Linked DNA regions of Homo sapiens: region 2 is linked to region 1. Evidence: promoter capture Hi-C in human tissues and cell types (Jung and others, 2019). All regions are on one chromosome and are shown on one strand. Each heading gives the region's core, a stretch centred on a gene start or on the middle of the fragment in contact. The rest is flanking DNA. Distances are from core to core; before and after follow the strand shown. Region 1 holds the start of ACOT12 (acyl-CoA thioesterase 12). Region 2 overlaps ACOT12 (acyl-CoA thioesterase 12).

Region 1 (5,996 bases), core at 2,672-5,171:
GAGCCTCCCAAAGTGCTAGGATTATAGGCATGAGCCATTGTACCTGGCCACACTTTATTTTTAAAATTCATTTTTTTCTGTTCTTAGATTGGATAATTTATATTGATGTATTTTTGCATTTACTAACTCTTTTCTCAGCCATGTCCATTCTGCTGTTAAGCCTAGCCATTGAGTTTGTTATTTTAGACACTGTATTTTTCAGTTCTGGAATTACCATTTGGCTTTTAAAAAATAGTTTCTATTACTCTGCAGAAATGTACTGTCTTTTCAATCTTTTTCTTCTTTTTCTTTTTCTTTTGAGATGGAGTCTCATTCTCAAATGAGACTCCAGCACTGGCTGGAGTGCAGTGGTACAATCTCGGCTCACTGCAATCTCCACCTCCCAGATTCAAGTGATTCTCCTGCCTCAGCCTCCTGTGTAGCTGGGATTAAAAGCACCTGCCACAACACCCGGCTAATTTTTGTATTTTTAGTAGACAGGGTTTCATCATGTTGACCAGGCTGGTCTTGAACTCCTGACCTCAAGTGATCCACCTGCCTCAGCCTCCCAAAGTGCTGGGATTACAGCAATCTTTATTATCATATTTTTAATTATATTATTGAGCACAGTTATACTAGCTGCTTTAAAATCCTTGAAGCTTAATTCCAGCATCAGGGTTGTCTAGGGATGAATCTCCATTGATCATCTTTTCTCTTAAGAATAAATCATGTTTCCCTCTGTATTTCAAGTAATTTTGGATAATATCCTAGCCATTGTGAGTGATCCATTGTAGAAACTGTGTTTCTCTGAAAAGTGTTGGTTTTGTTTTTGGTTTTGTTTTTTAAAGCAAGCAGTTAACCTGACCAAACCAAAACTATAATCTGTCTACCTAGAGATGGGCACAACTATTTTCAGTTCTTTTGGCCTCAACCAGGAGGTTTGGAGTCTGTCCTATGTATACATGATTCAAGATTTGCCAGATATCTGGGAAAAGATTATAGATAGATTTTAGGGCTCTGTCTCTCTGGCTCTTTCCTTTCTGGAACTTTCCCTTTTGTATTTCATTCAGTAGCTGTGCTTTTCCCAAACCCTGTCTTTGGGCTCTTCAAACCAGCAAGCCTGTGGGTTTTCCATCAGAACTATAGCTGGGAGCAGACTGGCATTTTCTTTCAGGCTTCAAGTCATTTATAAAACAAACACAGAAAAAGCCAACACCACTTTGTTCTTTCATGTGTTAACTTTCAAGTGTTATAAGCCTACTTTTGTTCACTTTTCACCTGCCTTAAGTCTCTTTTATTTAGTGTTTTGCCCAGAGTTTATAATTATTATCTGTGGGAGATTTTTTAGTAGGAAGCACTTGAACATCTTAGAAAAATCCTTAAAGCCCTTGGTGAAGAAAAGAAAGGGAAAAATGAACAAAACATATGACATGATCAATCAGATTAGCATCTTCAAAGATTACTTTAGAAGCAGTGTGGAGAGGAGACCAGAACGAATGGAGATGAGTTTGGAAATCACTGCTGAAGTCTGCATGAAACATGATGATAGCTTGGAGTAGATGGTCGCAATGGGGGTGCAGCAAAGTGCTTGGATTTCAGAGACTCCTTTAGGGGGTAACACTGATAGGACTTGCTCCATGCATAGAGTATGTGAAGTGAGAAGTAAGGTGGAGAGAGAAATATCAAGGATGACTCCTAGACTTTTGACTTGCTCAACTAGATGAGTTGGGTGCCACTCCAGAGATAGTAAACCCTGGAAAAGATTCACAAATAAAAAACCGTGTGTGTGAGATGTTCCAAAATAATACATGGACGTGTGAGATAGAGGATTACTCAGATAGCTTCAAGACTTTAGACTTAAGGGACTGGAAAAATAATGGGGCCACTGACAGAAGTAAGGATAGTGAGAATATTTCATCTTTCTTTAAATATTGAGAAGACATTTTGGAATCCAGCAGTGCCTAGGGGTCATAGAAATGCCTTGGGGGCCATGACTGGGATTGCAGTAATGTGGCTAAAGAGATAATGCTGGCCTATAAAAAACTCTGAGAAAATCCCAGAGAAATCAGTTTTATATTACTACACAGATTCAGTTACACCTTGGCTAAATAATGTCCCCTGCTTATGTGGTGCCTCAGGTCACCATAAAGTGTTTAACACAGGCGTTATTCATGTTGCCCAAACCAACTTTATCATACAGGTTTTCTTAATATTAGTAACATTATCAGTTATTAATATTATACTACTAATAGTAATGTAACTATTAAGGTATAGAGTAATTGATTGTCAATTGGATCTTTCCATGGTTTCCAAAGATGTCAGGTCATAGAAATGATGACAATTGCAGGTGGGCCATTGTTTCTCCATCACAAGACAGAGGCACTAAGCAAGGTAACTAAAAGTCACTTCAGTGGTCTCATAATGTATTCAGTTGCCTTGGAAACAGGCATCATTATTATTAGCAACCTCAGTGGTTTATGTATTATTCTTTTTTCCTATGTGTGGATTAATTTTGTATTCATGTTTCCATTGTTAATATAACCAATCTCAAATCCTGTTAAAAAAAAAAAAGGCTTAAACGAATCATTGATTTCTCACAATTGTGGAGGCAGGGAAGTTCCAAATCGAGGTGCTTGCCCATTGTAGGTCCTAGTGAGGGCTCTCTTCCTGGCCTGTGGATGGCTGTCTTCCTGCTGTGGCCTCACATGGCAGAGAGAAGCTCTCCAGTGTCTCTTCTTATAAGGACATTAATTGTATGGGACCAGGATTCCACTCTTATGACCTCATTAGCCTTAATTCTTCACTCCAAATAGAGTCACACCAGGGGTTAGGACTTCAGTGTATAAATTTCGGTGGGTGGTGTGGGGGATATAATTCAGTCCTTAATAAATGTTTTTGCCATTTTTACTGTCATTCTGTCACAAGAACACAGTGGAGTTTTCCAGAGACTACATAAGGGTGTGGTAGCAGCAGGGTGAATGCAGAAGCAGGTATGAGTAGTCAGCAATCCTCCACTAGCCAGACCTTAGAGAGACTCGCCAGGATGTAACCTTTATCACCACTCCTCTCGCTACACTTTTGTTCTTGTGGAAAATAGTTATTTCTTAATTAAAAATGTTATGCTAACAATGTAGTCCATTTCTTTTTTAAAAATAATTAAAAATTTTAAATTTCCATTACGGTAAATGTGATATAAATAGCCTACATAAACAAAAGCTGCCTGGGTGCGGTGGCTCATGCCTGTAATCCCAACACTTTGGGAGGCTGGGGCCTCCCAACACTTCAGGATCACTTGAGTCCAGGCGTTTGAGACCAGCCTGGGCAACATAGTGAGACCCCATCTCTACAAAAGCAAAACAAAACAAAACTCCCAAAGTCAGCTGGGCCTGGTGGCGTGCGTCTGTGGTCCTAGTTACTCTGGAGGCTGAGGTGGGAGGATCGCTTTAGCTCAGGAGGTCGAGGCTGCAGCGACCTCTGATGGCGCCACCGCTCTCCAGCCCGGGAGAGAGCTCAACAACAACAACAACAAACAAACAAACAAAAAACCCCGCAGAAGCTCTCTGGGCTCCTCACTTGTTTAATGGAATGAAGGAGTCCCGAGAGCCACACATTTGGGAACCACCGGTCTCGGCCATGCCCAGCGCGGGCGCACTGTTGCAACACCCCTATCCCTGGCTGCGCAGGGTTCAGCTCTCCGCAAGTACCTTCCTCGCCTTCCTACCCCCCCCAGCCCCCAGCCGCCGCCGCTCCCGCAGCCCCGGTCCCGCGCCTCCCCGCAGCCCCGGCGCCCGCCTACCCGCCAGGCAGGCGGTGGTGTCGATCCACTTGAGCAGCTGCCCCGCGCTCAGCTCGCCGCGCGCAGTGGCGTGCGCCGGCTGGATGGCTTGGCTCATGACCACCTCGCCGGGCGCCGGCCGCTCCATGGCCAGGGCGAGAGCGCTACGCCTGCGGCCCCCGACACCCCACCATGCCCGCTCCGCCCGCCCCGCCCTCCCCGCCCAGCTCCAGAGGGCACTGGCGCCGCCCGCCCGGGCCGCGAACCCCTGGCCGCCAGGTGGTGGGAGCTGCGAGTGAGGGGGCCCGCACTGTCATCCCAGGACTATCGCGAGTGGGGGAAAACCAGCGCTCTCGGGTCTCAGGAGAAGTCTGGGAAGTGCGCGGGGAGGGGGCTCCCGGGTAGACAGGTCTGGAAGGCGGCTCCCCGAGAGCCGGAGCGCGAGGAACAGCTTTTGAGATAAAAAAGCTGTTACACTTTCTAGAGCTGCTATCAGTGACTGTACAAAGCAGTCCTCATTAGGGAAACAGTGTCTCCAGAAAACCTCCAGCATCTAATGGATTGGTGGATGTCTGACTGTCAGGGGAGGCTGCTCCAGGGAGCACATTTACGATGGAGAACTGGAAACCCGGAGAAGTGGAGCAAGCAGCTGAGGTGATAGGAGCCGATAAGCGACCCGATCACCTGGCTGGAACCCAGGGCTCCTGACTGTCCGGAATAGCACGAAGAAGCCTAGCCGACTCTCACGAATTGGTGGTGCCTTTTCATCCTTATATTTTTGGCTTGCCAAGCCTCAGCATGGCGACATCAGAATGGAGATTCTGGTATTTTTCTTTCCTTTTTAAAAGATTTTTTTTAAAATGAAAGTGAAGAAATAAGGAAATGTTGACTTGATAGCTTTTAGGAGCCTCTGTGTATAGGTTTCAGGACAATCCAATCATAAATAGGAATTGCATGTTTTCACTGAGGCAAGCATGAAGTCTGACTTATATAAAAGGCATTAAAATAACTTTTAAAAGCAAACAAAAACTTGTGCATCCAAGATGGTCCCATTATGTAGCTATACACTTATTTCAATGATAACGTTATTACATCGCTTTTGGCACTCCTCCTTGGAAAATGCCTTTTTAATGACTTCTGTATTGAGAAATCATAATTTAGGAATTGATAGATTATCATATATTCACTCCATCTACCAATAACTCTGTGAGAGTCATTTATTGACCTTGGACTTGGCCATGTGGCTTGCTTAAGAATGGAATGTGGAGAGATAGCAGTGTACCACCAGTCTTGCCTTTAGAAGCACCGTGTTTCTGTTCTCAGGAACATCTGACCTCTGCCATGAGGTCAAGTAGCTGCCTATTAGCATCTGGGTACCAGACTGAATTCACGTATTGCAGAGGCATCTCAGCCAGCCGGAGGACTCACAGCCTGAAGCAGAGCAACCCAGCAGACATGAAGACTCTTGAGTGAGACATAACTACTTATTGTTGTGTGCCACTGTGATTTTGGGGGTTGTCTGTTATGCAGCAATAGCTGACAGTTACATGAGTGAACTGTATTAATATTTGGGAAGTTTATTAAATTACTGGAAATAAAGTTTGCATTTAGGCTGGGTTGTATTATTTTGGGTAAAAAGTGGTGACTAAAGTGGTGATATTGAATTATGTGTATGGTTGTATACTTGGTTTCTTATAAACTAAAGAAACTTAGGCCAGGCGCAGTGGCTCATGCCTATAATCCCAGCACTTTGGGAGGCTGAGGTTAGGTAAATTGCTTGAGCTCAGGAGTTCAAGACCAGCCTGAGCAACATGGTGAAACCCTCTCTCTACCAAAAATACAAGAATTAGTTGGGCGTGGTGGTGTGTCCCTGTGGTCCCAGCTACTCAGGAGGCTGAGGCAGGAGGATCACTTGAGCCAAAAAGGCAGAGGTTGCAGTGAGCTTGAGTCTCAAAAAAAAAAAAAAAAAAAAAGAAAAAGAAGAAGAAATTTCAAAAATGTTTACGCATAAGTGTAAGAGGATGGGTTTCCAAAATGATTTTCTTGAAGGGGACAGCATGTGTATATTTGTGTGTTTGTCTAGAGATGTTGCTTTAAAAGCAGACATGGTACACAAATTCACTGCTGTGTTTTCTTATCTTTATTATCTCCTGTTTAGATGTCTTCAGATTATGGTTTCATATCTTTTGTTGGTTTCATACTAATTTTCATTTTACTATTCTTGTGTTTTTCTGAATGGTCC
Region 2 (6,001 bases), core at 1,385-3,884, 42 kb before region 1:
AATAGTTGTACTGACACTTCTGTCTGCTGTTGATGAGAGTCCCCACTGGTCCCCATTTTTGCTTAGAAGTATCAGACACTCAACTATTTCCAGTTTGGTGGGTGTGGAAGAGTATCTCACGTTGGTTATAATTTGCATTTTCCTGATTACTAATGAGTTCCAACATCTTTTTACATGTATATTAAGTATTCTTGTCACCTCTTCATGAAATGTCTCTTTATATCATTTGCTTCAAATATTGCTTGTCTCATTTCCGGAGAATTTTTTTGCATGTTAGACATTTCTCTCCATTCTTCATGTTTCCTAACCTCCCTTACATGTTCCCCATCTCTTTGTCTATCTGGCTGCATTCTAGTTAACTCTTTCAGATCTATCTTCCAGTTCCTTGTCTTATCTGCTGTTTCATTCATTCACTGAGTTTCAAATTTTAATTATTATATATTCTTTTTTATAGAAATCGTCTTTGTTTCTTTGTTAAACCTTCTAGGTTATCTTTTTTGTTGTTGTTGTTCTTGCATTATACTCTTGATACTCTTTTATTTCTTAAAACATATTAAGCCTCTTCATCTTACTTGATAAATTCATTATCTGCTGTCTTTGTGGGCCTCGTTCAGACTTTGTGGGGCCTGGTGTCACTTCCAGATCTTGAAGCCTTGCTTTATTTCTATCTTTTATGATTTTTCACTAGGATCTCATATTGCTTGGATCTTTTTCTGTGGAAATTCTTGGGAGCTGGCTTTAAAGTCATTTCTTCACAAAGGAGCTGCATTTGCAGCTGCAGATCCCCTGGGGTCCTACAACACAGCACCACTTTACACTAAAGTTTACTTGTTCTGTTTTAGCCCAGACAGGTCATGTGACTTCTGAGGATCCAAATCTTCATGAGGATGCACTTGTGATTGAATTCTGAAAGGGAGAGAATTTTTTTTCCCATTCCACCTAAGGCTAAGGCTCTCTGGAGGGTGGAATTTTTCTGGTTGACTCACTGAGGGAATCACCTTTTGGAGGTTCCAGCACCAAGGAAGGTTCCCTGATCCAACCTTCTCCCTCACATGGACGCCTGGTTTTGTCTCCTGAGCCCAAGCAGGCCCACCTGCTGGGTCCTCCAGGACAAATGCCAGCCCCCATGCTTCCTTGCACTGCGGCATTTGTGTTTTCTCACCATTTCTGGACTTCAAAGTTTTCTCTTATTTTTCTGCCTGCTGAGATGTGTTTGCAAAGATGTTTGTAAATATTTTTCCAGAAATTTTTGGTTTTACCCAACAATGAATCCACTATATTGCTAGAATCAAAATGGAATCACTTTCTAAAGTGATCTTTGAAAGAAATACACAATCTTAATCCCTTTCAATTTCTCTCTCTTTCTAAAATTGATTTTATTTGAAGATGTTTTATACATATCCCAAACTAGTATTTATTGAGGTTGTTTTCAGGCTAATGTTACTTACTCAAATGGCACATTTTTTGTTTAAAATAAATTAATACAATTATCTGACTTCAAATTATGCTACAGAGTTGTAGTAAGCAAAACAGCCAGGCACTGGCATAAAAACAGACACATAGACCAATGGAACAGAACTGGGAACCCAGAAACAGATTCACACACCCACAGTGAACTCATATTTGACAAAGGTGCCAAGAACATACATTGGGGAAAGGACAATCTCTTCAATAAATGGTGCTGGGAAAACTGGATACTCATATGCAGAAGAATGAAACTAGACCACTATCTCTTACCATACACAAAAATCAAATCAAAATGGATGAAAGGCTTAAATCTAAGACCTCAAACTATAAAACCATTATAGGAAAACATCAGGGAAACTCTCCAGGACATTGGTCTGGACAAAAATTTATTGAGCAGTACCCCACAAGCACAGGTAACCAAAGCAAAAATCAACAAACGGAATCACATCAAGTTAAAAAGCATCTGCACAGCAAAGAAAACAATCAACAAAGTGAAGAGACAACCCACAGAATGGGAGAAAATATTTGAAAGCTATCCATCTGATAAGCGATTAATAACCAGAATATATAAGGAGCTTAAACAGCACTATAGGAAAAAAATCTAATAATCTGATTAAAAAATGGGCCAAAGATTTGAATAGACATTTCTCAAAAGAAGACATGCAAATGGCAAACAGGCATATAAAAAGGTATCGACATCACTGATCATCAGAGAAATGCAAATCAAAACTACAATGAGGTATCATCTCACCTCAGTTAAAATGCCTTTTATCCCAAAGACAGGCAATAACCAGTGCTGGTAAGGATGTGGAGAAAAGGGAACCTTCATACACTGTTGGTGGGAATGTAAATTAGTACAACCCCTATGAAGAACAGTTTGGAGGTTCCTCAAAAGACTAAAAACAGAACTATCATCAGATCCAGCAATCCCATTGCTGGGTATACACCCAAAAGAAAGGAAATCAGGATACTGAAGAGATATATGCATTCCCATGTTTGTTGCAGCCCTGTTCACAATAGCTAAAATTTGGAAGCAACCTAAGTGTCTATCAACAGATGAATGAATAAAGAAAATATGATACATATACACAACAGAATACTATTCAGCCATAAAAAAGAATGAGATCCTGTCATCCGCAACAACATGGATGGAACTGGAGATCATTATAAGTGAAATAAGGCACAGAAAGACAAACGACAAACATTGCATGTTTTCACTTATTTGTGGGAGCTAAAAATCAAAACAATTGAACTCATGGAGATAGCAGAAGCATGCTTATGAGAGGCTGGGAAGGGTAGTGGGAGGGTGGGGATGGTTAATGGGTACAAAAATATAGTTAGAAAGAATGAATAAGACCTAGTGTTTGACAGCACAACAGGGTGACTACAGTCAATAATAATTTAATTATATATTTAAAAATAACGAGTATCATTGGATTGTTTGTCACACTTGAAGGAGTGGATACCCCATTTTACATGATGTGATTATTGCACATTTGTATGCTTGTATCACAGTATTTCATGTATCCCATAAATATATACACCTACTGTGTACCCACAGAAATTGAAGTGTGTGTGATAGTGACGGTCTCTGAAGGTGGGAAGTGAGACGGTAGGCAGACTTACTTTTTAACTATATGCCTTTTTATGCGTTTTGCATTTTTTACCCTGTGCATGTACTATCTCTTTAAAAATAGTTTTTAGATAATTATAAATAAAAAATTAAGAGAAGGCCTTATGAGAGACATTGTAAAGACTCAAATATAAAGCAGCTCCTTCTTTTCTGAGGGATAACTTTAAAGAGAAACCACATACTTCCTATGAAGACATATACAGTATATACTGGAACCTGTAGAGGGAGGTGCTAGGTGAGATTATACGTGCACCAGCATCAGCTATGATACGTATGCAGAAATATATTGAGTTAGATGACTTTGGTGCAGAAGTTTGCTTATTTGGAGTTAATTTACAACCAACGAAAAAAATAGGGTTTTCCCAGGTTCAGAGAGCAATTCAGGCTCGCAGTTCTGGTTTGGGTTAAGTAAACAGAACTCACCCTTTCTGCTGGCTTTGAGTGATCAAGTTCAATACGTGTACTTTGGATGTTCTTAAAGTACTGTGTCATCAACCTGCTTTGACAACTTTACATTCACTCTACATTTGTAGATCAGGAACTTTGACCTGAATTGAGGTCATGCTAGCCCTAGTTTTCTTTCTGCATATCCAGAAAATTAACCATGATAATGCTCTTAAGATCTGATTTTCTTACTCAAAAATTAAATTAAAATGCTTTCAAATTTTAAGTTTTTCCCCTATATGTCAAGCTTGCAAATAATGATCCAGTAGTATTTCTGAGATGTGCGTGCTTATACACATTCCAGAAATATCCTGCTTTTACAAAACTAATCTCATCTCTTTTCTTTTCTTCCGAAAGGATATGATCTGGATTCAATGTTCTCACTGTTCTAATAATATGCATTTCCATCATACAACATCTTGAAAAATATTCCAATCTTTTATGTTTGATATTTATAACCAACACAAACCCCTGGTTTTCTAAAAACATGGTACAAGAACAGAGATGGGTTGGTTCTCTTCTTTTAGAACACACAATGTCCTATCAAAAACCAACTCCATCTGATCTAAGGAGCAGCAGGTGGAGAAATCACATACTACACAGCGGCTTTAAATGTCAGAGTCTGGCTCTTGCATTCTTTAAGATGAATTGCTTTTAAGTTCTCTGGCACCTTTGCTGGCATGGAAGTTAGTAAAATTTCCAAAAACAAAATCAGATCAGTGGAATTAGGTTAAAAGTTGTTTTATGTGAAAGGATGTAGAATAAGTTAGGGCAGATTAAACAAAGCAGATGATAAAAGAAGACTTTGAGAAAAATCTATAATTTGAAATTGAACTTTGAACTAGACATGTAGATGTAGATCTAATCTGGCCAACTTTGTAACACACTGAAACTCAAGTCAATTGCAATCGTTTTATCTCTATATTTGAATGACTGTCATGTGTGCCTGTCACTAATTTAGACTATCTCCAGTATTCAAAGTACTGTTAGTGTTGTGCAGACAAATTGTCTGCTGCTGATTTCACTTATTAGTGCAACTTGCACAACACCAGAAGAAGCCGGTGCAGCCACCCATGTTTACCTGGCTCTTGTTACCTTGAGGGGGGTGTGAAGACAGCTTCAGTCACCATCCTAGCAACCCTTCCCAATAGACGAACCCTCGCAAGGGAGCTCAGGGTAGCAGAGATCCCCATTCCTCCAAGATAAAAACATGACAACAATTTCCCAGTGTCTAAAGTACAGATTTGACACGAATTATCTCTTTCTTTTATAATTAACTTCTTCCTCAATAATTATTTTTATCAATTATGTCTTTTTTTTTTTATTTTTGAGTCAGAATCTGGCTCTGTGGCCTAGGCTGGACTGCAGTGGTGCAATCTTGGTTCACTGTAAACTCCGCCTCTTGGGTTCAAGCAATTCTCTTGCCTCAGCCTCCTGAGTAGCTGGGATTACAGTAGTGCACCACCACGCCTGGCTAATTTTTGTATTTTTAGTAGAGACAGGGTTTCACCATGGTCTCGAACTCCTGATCTCAAGTGATCCGCCTGCCTCAGCCTCCCAAAGTGCTGAGATTATAGGCATAAGCCACCGCCAGGCCTCATCAATCATCTTGATCAGCCTGGAACCATGACCAAATTTCTCCTAGCCTGAAAAACAATGCCCCTTGACTTTGAGGGTCGCCTGTAGCTCCAGGCTATTTCTTTCATCCTTTACAGCATAGTTCCTGAGAAGCATCTGTCTTTAACTCTTGGCTCTAATTCCTCCTGTGGAGGGGACCTCTCAAACAATAATAGAAATGACAGCACTTTCTGCATGCCTGACACTTTCTATATTAACTCATTTAATGCTCCCATAAACCCATTATGTAAGTACCTTTATTATTCCCATTTTACAGTTCTCGTTTTGTTTATTATTTACCTTGCTTCGGCAAGCTGAGAAAAGCAAAGTCAGAGGTTTTGGTTATAGACCTGTTACAGTACTATTCAGCATAACACAGAAGGACATCCTGTCATTTGCAACAACATGGATGGAACTGAGGTCATTATGTCAAGCAAAAGAAGTAGGGCACAGAAAGACAAATATCACATGTTCTCACCTATTTGTGGAATCTAAAAATCAAAACAATTGAACTCACAAAGATAGAGAGCAGAAGGATGGTTCTGCCAAGTCAGAGGACTTGGTTACAGACCTGGATAAAAAAAGCGTTGGATAAGAAAATAAAAAGAGCAGCTTTGTGCTGGGGCAACCACTGACTATGAGAAAAAGATGAGCCAATGCATAGGGCCAGCTCCTAGCAATTCGCCTTTAGGAGTAAGTCCGGTGGGAGGAGGTAGCTCTCTCCAGGGTGGATGGTTTGGGTTGAGTGGGCCGATGGATGCCTCCTGCTTCCTGTGGGGCTGGGTCCAGAGGCCAGAGAGGAGCAAGTTCCACCTTGGATGGCTGGAGTGAAGGAAAATA

Evidence for each region. Contacts are between HindIII fragments. The study calls those that stand out against the background at their distance.
Region 2: a fragment that was not itself captured here is called in contact with the fragment with the promoter of ACOT12 in region 1 in 1 of the 25 tissues and cell types used here (liver).

Annotation. Positions count from the first base shown.
Region 1 is chr5:81,390,213-81,396,208 of GRCh38, forward strand. It overlaps ACOT12 (acyl-CoA thioesterase 12), which reads right to left and starts at 3,922. Exons shown (of 15, transcript NM_130767.3): 1 at 3,776-3,922. The coding sequence starts at 3,902. The HindIII fragment of the contact is 9,735 bases long and covers 1-5,996 here.
Region 2 is chr5:81,349,849-81,355,849 of GRCh38, forward strand. All of the region lies in intron 5 of ACOT12 (acyl-CoA thioesterase 12), which reads right to left. Among named protein-coding and RNA genes, the nearest start is that of ACOT12, 41 kb to the right of the region's middle. The HindIII fragment of the contact is 6,823 bases long and covers 1-6,001 here.